3 separate regions of the Homo sapiens genome follow, and all the other regions are linked to region 2. Evidence: promoter capture Hi-C in 16 types of primary human blood cells and fetal thymus (Javierre and others, 2016). All regions are on one chromosome and are shown on one strand. Each heading gives the region's core, a stretch centred on a gene start or on the middle of the fragment in contact. The rest is flanking DNA. Distances are from core to core; before and after follow the strand shown.

Region 1 (3,043 bases), core at 92-2,591, 170 kb before region 2:
ATTGGCACTCCTGTTGCCTTAATCACCTTCCACGTATGTATGATGCCTCTCATATTGTTTATCATCTCAACGGCACAGCCCCTTGAGGTTTGGGAGCCTCTTGTAAACTTTCCTTGTCTCTGTGCATAGTAGATGCTTAAGAAGTATCTGGTAAGTATTAAATGAGTGACTTGTAAATATAACTCTCTGCTCCATCCACAACACCTTACCTCTGGATGCAGTAAGATTATCCTAAGAGAGGGCATCTTTAGATGCATGTAAAGATAGACTTTTGTGTATCTGTGCTTTTTTTTTTTTTTTTTTTGAGAAACAGGGTCTTATTCCCATTGCCCAGGTGGAAGTACAGTACAGTGGCATGATCATGGCTCACTGCAGCCTCAACATTGCGAACTCAAGCTATCTTCCTGCCTCTTTTTTTTTTTTTTTTTTTTTTTTTTTTTTTTTTTTTGTAGAGCCGAGGTCTCACCATGTTGCCCAGGCTGGTCTTGAACTCCTGGGCTCAAGTGATTCTTCTGCCTTGGCCTCCCAAAGAGCTGGGATTACAGGTGTGAACCACTGTGTCTGGCCTGTTTGTGCTCTTGTTTGTAGTCAGTCTAGGGGTTAAGTGTAGGGAACTCTTGGAGGTGACCCAAATGAGTCCATTAAAGTTTTTGTCCTTGGGAATTTTGAGCTGAGACAGAGCCCAATAGGTAATGGAACTGCATTATAGTAGCACCCTGGAAACAGTCAAAATTCTTGCTGAGATTCCTGGAGGTGCCCTTGCTTCTATCCTTCTAACCACTGTGAAACCTTTTTAGATTCCACGAGATGCCCTCATGTCCTTCTAGTAAGTTACTTTGCTTAAACTAGCTAGAGGCAGTTTCTGTTCTTGACCACTAGGAAAATCTGAACTGATATAGTAGAATAAGGTGGGTCACTGACAGCACATAGATAACACTCCCGAAATAAATAAAGACAAAGCATTATTTGTGTTATGCAAGTATCCCACTTCATTCAAATAAATTATTCTTTCCTTGAAGAAAAGCATGGCCATTAGCTCTCTGAAAAGGAAAGGGTAAGTTTGGGACTGAACTAGTAATAACAACAACAAATAAAACCTTCAAAAGTTGTGGGGAAACAAATTATTTTCAAAAACAATTTACATAGTTATACCATCCTCATATCATCTACACTGAGGTAAACAGATAGACAAGTACAAAATCTGAATAACATTTGCTGTATTTAAAGACAAAGATGCCCTTATTGGCTCTTCAAAGGGCAGGTGAGGATTTACATTGATCCAATTCTTATGGTCTTATCTACTCATCCTTTGGAGCCAGTAATAATCTGTATATAGGATCTGGTTAAGCCAACTGTCTCCATTCCTCCATCCATCCATCCACCCACCCAATAGTTCTTTGTGTGAGGCACTGTGCTGGATCATGAAGCCATCAAGATGAGTAAAATTAGATTCTCACCCATTAATAAGTTTACAGAACAGTAGGAGAAACAGTCAAGCAACTACAGTGATGTCATATAATACAGGCATAAACAAAGTACTATGGTAGCCCCTTACTGCCTGGAGGAATGAATGAAAGGAGTCAGAAAGAAGGTGATGTTTGAGCTGAAACTTGAAGCTAAATGGGAAACATTCCCAGGGAAATGAATCTTCAGCTCCTAATCTAAAGGATAGCAAATTTTGTTCCTATTTTAATGAGAGGAAATTAAAATTCAGAGAGAATGCTTACACCTAGTAGGGCCTCACAGTGACAAGGCAAAACCATAGTACGACTCAGAAATCTGGACTGCCTATTGCTAGATTCACAGACTAAGAACCTAAGAACACGGTCCCTGTGCATTGCTAGTACTCAAAAAAAAAAAAAAAAAAAAATCCAACTTTAAACATCTGCTTATTCCATGAAATGATCTTGCCAGGCATGCTCAACTTCTCTAAGAAGGTCATTAGACTTAAACTTTTGTGGAAAGGAGTTTAAAAAGCCAAATACATTTCTGACAAATGGAATGTCTGATAATTATGTGACTGAATCTCACATTTACTAATTCTGAAACTAGTTAATACCAAATAGTTCTTAAAAGACAAAGGAAGAGAGGTGATTTCTCTGTGGAAAGGTTGGGCCTAAGGGTCAAGGATGGTTCTAAGTCATCAGACTACAGAGTTTTAATCTAAACATTTTTCTTCATTTTTTACTATGTTAGAAAGAGCACCCTGAGATATTAAACTACTACCCAAAACATCTTTTTCAAAAAGTGAAAAAAGGAAAAGGGAGGCACTCCATCATGGATTTGCACTAAAACAAATATCTTCTATATATTTGAAGTTGAATGCTCTTAACTACCAACTGAATGGCACGTTCACATATGAAGACTTCTTGTGATTCCTGCAAGACAGTGAGAGTGTGAATGACCCCTGCTGTGGCCAATTTAAGAAGGAAAAATATTAAAGGTATGCAAAGGGTGAGGAAGAGCTGCTGTTCTATGTATAGTTCCATTAAATTTATTAAGAGGCTTTGTCTTTTTTTTTTTTTTTGGCTTTAGAGAGGCATTAAGAAGTAGGGCATGAAGGCACAAAAAGGGAACCTGAAATCCAATTGCAATAATTACTCATGCAATTGGCCTCTTTCTATGTGGCATTATAGAAACCTCCTGAGTAACACAGTTTATGGTTTTACAAAAGAGAACTCCTACATCATTGCATGGCATGGCTACCGCTTCCTTAGACCATTCAGAGAATGATCCCCAAGTATTTTTCATAAACCCCATAGGGTTTCCTACATTAAAATAAAGTGACAGAGATCACGCCTTGAATAATTTCACAATTCCAGCAATGAGTTGTACTACTTCCAAATGACGAATTTTCTGCTCCAAATAATGGGACAAAGGGCATCATCACATGGACACAGTCAATTTCACAGTGATGGACTCACACAGGTGGATGATCTGAGGCACAAGCTGTGATTGGTCTTAAGAAAATGAAAGGTAGAGTTGGGTTCAAAATCCACATCTCACGATTTCTGGTCCTTATTCATCCAAAAAGTTGAACTGC
Region 2 (3,306 bases), core at 115-2,614:
GATGGGCATAACAGAGTCCCAGGACTTCACCCCTTCGGTGTAGAGCAGGGATGGCAGGGATGGCAAGAGCCCCACTTAGGATACCTGGAAAAAGAAATCTCCGCAGCAAAGGGTCCTTGTGCTGACTTTTCTTTTTCATTTACGAGTGTACCCTCTGTCTCCTTGGGGGCCCACCTTCTTATTCCCAGCAGGAAAGGGGAAGGGGGAGGACAGGAAATGTGGAAACCGCGTTAACAGCCTGATTGTGAACCAGCACTGCGACTGAGATGCGAGGAGGGAAGGACAAAAGTCCCTCCCTCGCTTTTCAAAAAGTAAGCCACAAAAGTTATAGAAACATTTTCTATTAAACATCATCTCCATTTTGCAGAGAACCTAAGGCTCCGAGGACTTGCCCAGGGCCATACAGCCGGTGAGCCCCAGGGCTCAGCCACAGCCCAGGTAACGAGGACAGGGCTTGCTCCAGCCACCATTGGCTGCCTCTTCGGCCTCCCTCTCTCAGGTGAGACAGTATGTCAGGTGAGGCAACTGAAACAATGTCCCTCAGTTCGGATGCATCCTCCCTCTTCGTTTCCTGTCATGAGACAGGTTTCTCCTCTTCCTGGATGTGGTTAAAAAAAAAAGAAGAAGAAAAGAAACAAAAGAAAAAAGGAAAGAAACGCAAAGCAAAGCCAAGCCCAACGTCTTGGCTCTCAGGGTTGCACCTCCTTTCTCTACCCGCGGGGTCTGGGCCGGCGGGGTGTGGCCGCAGCCCTGGGGCGCGAGAAGCCCATCCGGGCCCGAGGTGCTGGGCGGCCTGGAGCGCTGGCTGCCCCCAGGGCCGGCGGCTGTCCCTGGGGTTTCCCCGCTTCTGGGCTTTCCCCGCTTCTGGGCTCGGTGGCCGCGCGGGCGGGCGCCAAGTGACTCAGCCGTCCCCGAGGGCGTTCCGGGAAGCGGCCGGGGGCGCGGGCTTTCCTGTCGCCGCAGCGTGTGAGTCCCCAGCGCCGAAAGGGGATCAGAAACCGCTGGGCGGAGCAGCGGGAGGAAGCTGCGGCGCGCAGAGCAGAGTCAGCGCCACCGTCTTTCGAGCTGGAGCGGAGGGAACGTGGCCTTGACGTTGCTGAAGCTGAAGCGCCGGGCGGGCGCCCGGACCCCGGGGCGGGGCAGAAACGAGTCCGTTCCCTACTGCGGGGCGGGGGCAGGGCTGGAACGGGAGTTCAGGAGGGACAAGGACGTGGAAGGAGCCCAGCAGAGGGCACCCGGGACCCCCGCGGCCGGGCCGAGTTTGAAGGGAGCCCCTCTCCCCCTCCCCCTGGCGGAGCCCCCTGTAGGGTCTGACCTGGTGCCCCGCAACAGGAGCGGGAGGAGGAGCAGGCCCAGAGCGGCCGGGCCCCAGCCTAGAGGGGCGCTCGAGGGGAAGCGAGTGAAGTGAGGGCTCCGCCAGAGCAGCACCCCCTTCCCCGCCGTCCCTCCCGGACTGGCCGGTTCTCGTCAGAGATTCCTTTGTCTTCGACGCTGGTCCCTCCACACCAAGGTGGGAGGCTGAGGTGGGAGGTGGCAGAGCGGTGGGAGTGGGAGCAAGGCCGGAGCGTGGGTGGAGGCGCTGGCCGCGGGCTTGCAAGGATGGCACAAGGGAGACATCCAGGACAAACCATGGGGAACACAGCTGCCACTGAGAGAAGCTGCCCGGAGGAGGAAGGGGCTGCAAAGTTCAACCACCAGGCAAGGCAAGTCCACGAACAAAATCCCGGCTCTAAAAACAGAGCAGCAATTGTCACTGTGGGTTAGACGCTTTGAGTTACCTCTATTTTCATTTATGTCTAAGATAAATTCAAGAGACAAGGAGAAAGTCAGGAGGTTAAAATTCCAGCCTCTGGTCCCAGCTCCCTAAAGCCAGCTCCCTTCTTGTCTTTGCCAAAGTTTGCTTCTATGAATCAGTAATTAACCCCCACTTTTTTTCTTATGTCAGAGTTCCTTCAGTCACAACCAAGAGAGTTCTGACTAATAACACACCTTTTAATCCAGCAATTTTACTTCTGGGAGTTTATTCCAAAGAAATATTACATAACAAAAGAGCCATATGCCTCACAATATTCACTGTGGGCTTGTTCATAAAATTAAAACAATCATAACTATAAATGTCCAGTAATGGAGGCAGGGAATAAACTGGCATATTTATATGATAAACTACTATGGGCCGGGCGTGGTGGCTCACGCCTGTAATCCCAGCACTTTGGGAGGCTGAGGCGGGCAGATCACCCGAGGTCAGAAGTTCAAGACCAGCCTGGCCAACATGGCGAAACCCCGTCTCCACTAAAAATACAAAAACAAGTTAGCTGGGCGTGGTGGTGTGGGCCTATAGTTCCAGCTACTTGGGAGGCTGAAGCAGGAAAATCACTTGAGCCCGAGAGGTAGAGGCTTCAATGAGCTGAGATCGTGACACTGCACTCTGGCCTGGGCAACAGAGCGAGTCTCCGTCTCAAAACAAAACAAAACCTACGGAGCCTTAAAATGTTATATGTAGGGTTTTATAACTTGAATAAAGACTTCGGTTATAAGAAAGCAAGACACAAAATCATATATATATATAATATATATATACACACACACAGTGTAATCACAATATGAAAATGTACATAGAAAAAAAACACTTGAAGGAAATCCACCAAAATGTTACATCTTTGGGTGATAGAATTACATACAAGTATTTTTTTCTTTCTAAAACATTTATGTATTTCCCAATTTATCTACAATGAGGATAAGCATGTATTATTAAAAAGTATGAAAACATTGATTTTAAAATTTTACATATATAGTATATAATTATATATACATAATACATATATATATACTATATATATATATATAGTATATATATATATGTGAAATTGCTGCTGAATAGGAAATCACCGGGCCTGGGTGAAAGATGATAAAATTTACTTGAGCAATTTTTCCACTAATTGAATGATTTTTCTGCAATTTAAAAAGGGTATATGGAAGTTAAAGAGGATGGGTCAATGTTTATACATCTGTATTAGTTCGTTTTCACACTGCTGATAAAGACATACTGGAGACTGGGCAATTTACAAAAGAAAGAGGTTTAATGAACTTGCAGTTCCACATGGCTGGGGAGGCCACAAGTCATGGTGGAAGATTAAAGGCACTCAAGAGAAGAGAGAGCTTTTGCAAGGAGACTCCCGTTTTTCAAAACCATCAGATCTCGTGAGACTTACTCACTATCACAAGAACAGCCCGAGAAAGGCCTGGCCCCATGATTCAATTACCTCCCACCAGGTCCCTCCCACAACACGTGGGAATTCAAGATGAGAT
Region 3 (3,209 bases), core at 253-2,752, 180 kb after region 2:
TGTACCCCTATTTTTACTCTCCAGGCCCCGTCTAGATCTCTGATCTCCCAGGTAGGTATCAAATGCCCATTTAACTTACAGATTTGGTTACTATGGCTTGAGTTTTTTCTTGACTGCTGGTATAGTTCAATTTGGATGAGATGGAGGGGAGTCTTGGGAAAAGAGCTTGGTCTTTTGCTTGGAAGTTACTGGTGAATCTGGCATCAACTGGGTTGTAGGGTGGGATAGTGGTTGCATTCTGAGTTTCCATTTCAACTGAAGGCTTGGAATTGAGGTCTACTTGGCTATCCTCAAATTTGCAGGGTTGTACTCTGTAGTCAGCCTCTTTGTCCTCTTTGCTGTTGCCTAACTGGGGAAATATTCTGTCTTCAGACTGGCCACGTGTTTCATAGTAAGACAGCTGGTCTTTATGATTAGCTTGTCTGTCTGCTAAGTGGTCAGTCTGGTCAGATTCAGTGTAGTGAGCATTGTCAACTGGAGGTTGATCAGCATTACTATGAGCTTGGTCAATAGCCTGGTGTTCAGCTAGTTCAGTGGCTTGGCCGTACACTTGGTGGTGAGTCTTTACAGATGTTTTGTGGTCAACGAGGCCATACAATCTGAGGTCAGTCTGCTCAGAAGTTCCTGGGTCAGCCAGGCCAGCCAATCTGTAGTCAGTCTTCTCAGAACTTCTTCTCCTAACTTTCCCTGACATTCTGCGGTCAATCTGTACGGAAGGTCTTTGGTCAGATGGTACGGACGATCCACTGTCAATCTGTACAGAAGGACTTTGGTCAGATGGGACGGATGACCCACTGTCAATCTGCACAGAAGGTCTTCTCTCAGATAGTTTGGATAATCTGTGTGTAATCTGCTCAGAAGTTCTTCGCTCAGCCTCGCCAGACATTCTGCGGTCCATCTGCTCGGAAGCTCTTCTCTCAGACTGGCCTGCCATTCTGTGGTCGGTCTGTCTGGAACCTCTCTGGTCAGATGGCATAGCCAGTCTACCATCAATCTGCCCAGAAGTTCTTCTCTCAGCCTGGGTAGGTAATCTTCGTTCAGTCTGTTCAGCAGTTCTTTCCTCCGTCAGGCCAGACACCTGACCATCACTCTGTTCATGCTGTACATTATTAGCTTGGCTAGATGCCTTGCCTTTAGTCTGTTCAGACGGTGTTTGATTAACCTGATCATCTGCTCTAAGGTCAGAAACATCAGCAGGGTTGGATGCTCTGCGGCCAGCCTGACCAGGTGTACTATGCCCATTTTGTTCAGCTACTCCGTTGGTAGCTTGGCTAAATATGCTGGATTCAGCCTGGCTAGGCACTCTTAGGGCAGTCTGGTCAGCTATTCTGTGAGCAGTGTGGTTATCTGCCTTCCTTTCGGCCTGGTTCTTCTGGTCGTCTTCTTCCTGGCCCTTAGTGTGGCCAGCACTTGAGGGAGCGGCTGGGCTTTCATGTTTCAAGGGTTCAGCCAGAGCCTCTTGCGGAGGCTCTTCCATTTCCTGCCGCGTCCCTGACTGGTCTAGGTTGCCAGGCACTGTGGGTGGGGTTGGGCTGGGTCGTCTAGGCGACCCTCCAGGAACGCCCCATGATTCCCACGGGCTTTGTTCGGGTCACTGCGTGCGTCAGGGAGAGTGGCCGTCCCGCTGTTGTAAGTGGAGGGACGGCAGTCAGCTGACCCTGCAGTGTGCAGGCGAGCGCAGGGAGTACGCCATGTCCTGAGAAGGGGCGATTCTCAGGCTCTGGCAGTTACAGCTTCTCCTCACCCTGCCGAGCAACCAGGCCACGGGGCTCCGTGCATCGCCACCTAGAGTGTTACCCTCTTCCTTGTTCACAGAGGTTCTCCGCAGTGTGTGAGAAAGAGGCCCTCTCTCAGGTACTGCTCCTCTGATTAACATCCCCCACCGCACCTCCAAATGTCAACAGATGAACACACAACCAGCTGCACGAGGACCACAAAACTGAACAGAGGTTGTTGCTATTGCCATCCCCTTTGGGTATAGCTGTCTTGGCAGTGGAAACTCCTGCCCCAAGGTGTTTTCTTGCTGGATTAGACATGTGATCTGTGGCGGGAGAGCCAGAGAGAGGAGAGAAGATCCAGTGAGAATGGGTTCTAAAACTGCACCATCTAGTGGTCTTACAGCAGAGAGGCGAGTTAGAAGGAGGCCAAATCAGAGTTCCAGAAAGGAAGGGAGTAAGGAAAGTGGGAGAAAGATACCAGAAGGAATATTTAGCAAGTGGAGAATTTGTATTTGATAGTGTTGGCCAGTGGGGCCCAGTTTTTGAGATTTGGTCCTCCCACTTTGCAATCAACCTTAAGAATGCACCTCAGAGTCAGTAGGCTGTCTACTTTCAGGAGTAGGCCAGTACAGAGGTGGTGATTGATGAGACAAATTACTTTGACCTTGCAAAGCCTGAAATCACTGAGGCAGGCCAAGGGTTGGTAGTGTGATGCCAGATATTCCTTTAGTAGGGATTTAACTGCATTAAACAATTAGAAATGAGACTTAAAATCCAAATTCAAATACTTGTGACAAAGGAGAGTGGATACACTTGACACCATACTTAGGAATGGAAAGGGGAATCTAAGCACACTGAAGTAAAGTCATTTATGTAACAGTGCCTAGAACATAATAGGTGCTCAAGAAGTGCTTGTTGAATGTCACTTTATGAATTATCTACCTTATTTATTTAAAAATGCATGACACCATTGGATACTGTGTTTAGAGTAAAATAGGTCTTGGGCTATGGCTTGTAGCTTCAAAGTGCTATTGGTTTTGGAGATTTATTTTTCCATTTTATAACTTAAATGTAATAATCATAGAAATATAAAAAAGAAAGCGTAAAGAAAAAAATTCCCAAACACTCAAGAGATAACCTGTATTGACATTTTGATGTTTATCCTTCTGGAAATACCCCCATGCAAATCTATGTGTCTATATCTATAGGTATGTATATATTTTACAAAATGATGATTTATCAATTTGAGATCTTTTTTTTAAATGTAGCTGTTTTATAGTTACAAATTTCCCTCTGAGCTGATGCTTTTGCTGCATCTCTCAAGTGTTTGGTGTTATGTTTTCATTCATCTGAAGATATTTTCTCATTTTCTGTGATTTTTTTTTCTTTGACACATTGGTTGTTTAAAAGTATGTTGTCTAGTTTCCAAATATGTATGAATTTTCCAGTTTTCCTTCTCTTATTGATTTCTAGCTTCATTCTGCTGTGTTC

What was found. The method cuts DNA at HindIII sites, captures the fragments that hold promoters and counts their contacts. A CHiCAGO score of 5 or more calls a contact.
Region 1: a fragment that was not itself captured here is called in contact with the fragment with the promoter of ARHGAP31-AS1 in region 2 in 1 of 17 cell types (megakaryocytes); the score reaches 5.1 in megakaryocytes.
Region 3: a contact is called between the fragment with the promoter of TEX55 here and the fragment with the promoter of ARHGAP31-AS1 in region 2, in 10 of 17 cell types (non-activated CD4 T cells, naive CD4 T cells, total CD4 T cells and 7 more). The highest score is 14.9, in non-activated CD4 T cells.

What each region holds. Positions count from the first base shown.
Region 1 is chr3:119,492,631-119,495,673 of GRCh38, reverse strand. It overlaps POGLUT1 (protein O-glucosyltransferase 1), which reads right to left. Exons shown (of 11, transcript NM_152305.3): 11 at 966-3,043. Among named protein-coding and RNA genes, the nearest start is that of TIMMDC1, 4.4 kb to the left of the region's middle. The HindIII fragment of the contact is 3,644 bases long and covers 1-3,043 here.
Region 2 is chr3:119,320,818-119,324,123 of GRCh38, reverse strand. It overlaps ARHGAP31-AS1 (ARHGAP31 antisense RNA 1), which reads left to right and starts at 1,364. Exons shown (of 2, transcript NR_046748.1): 1 at 1,364-1,510. All of the region lies in intron 1 of ARHGAP31 (Rho GTPase activating protein 31), which reads right to left. RefSeq lists enhancers at 1-835, 836-1,693 and silencers at 657-1,006, 1,057-1,416. The HindIII fragment of the contact is 4,466 bases long and covers 1-3,306 here.
Region 3 is chr3:119,144,458-119,147,666 of GRCh38, reverse strand. It overlaps TEX55 (testis expressed 55), which reads right to left and starts at 1,502. Exons shown (of 3, transcript NM_152539.3): 1 at 80-1,502. The coding sequence starts at 1,477. It also overlaps a transcript of IGSF11 not described here. RefSeq lists a silencer at 1,951-2,245. The HindIII fragment of the contact is 11,642 bases long and covers 1-3,209 here.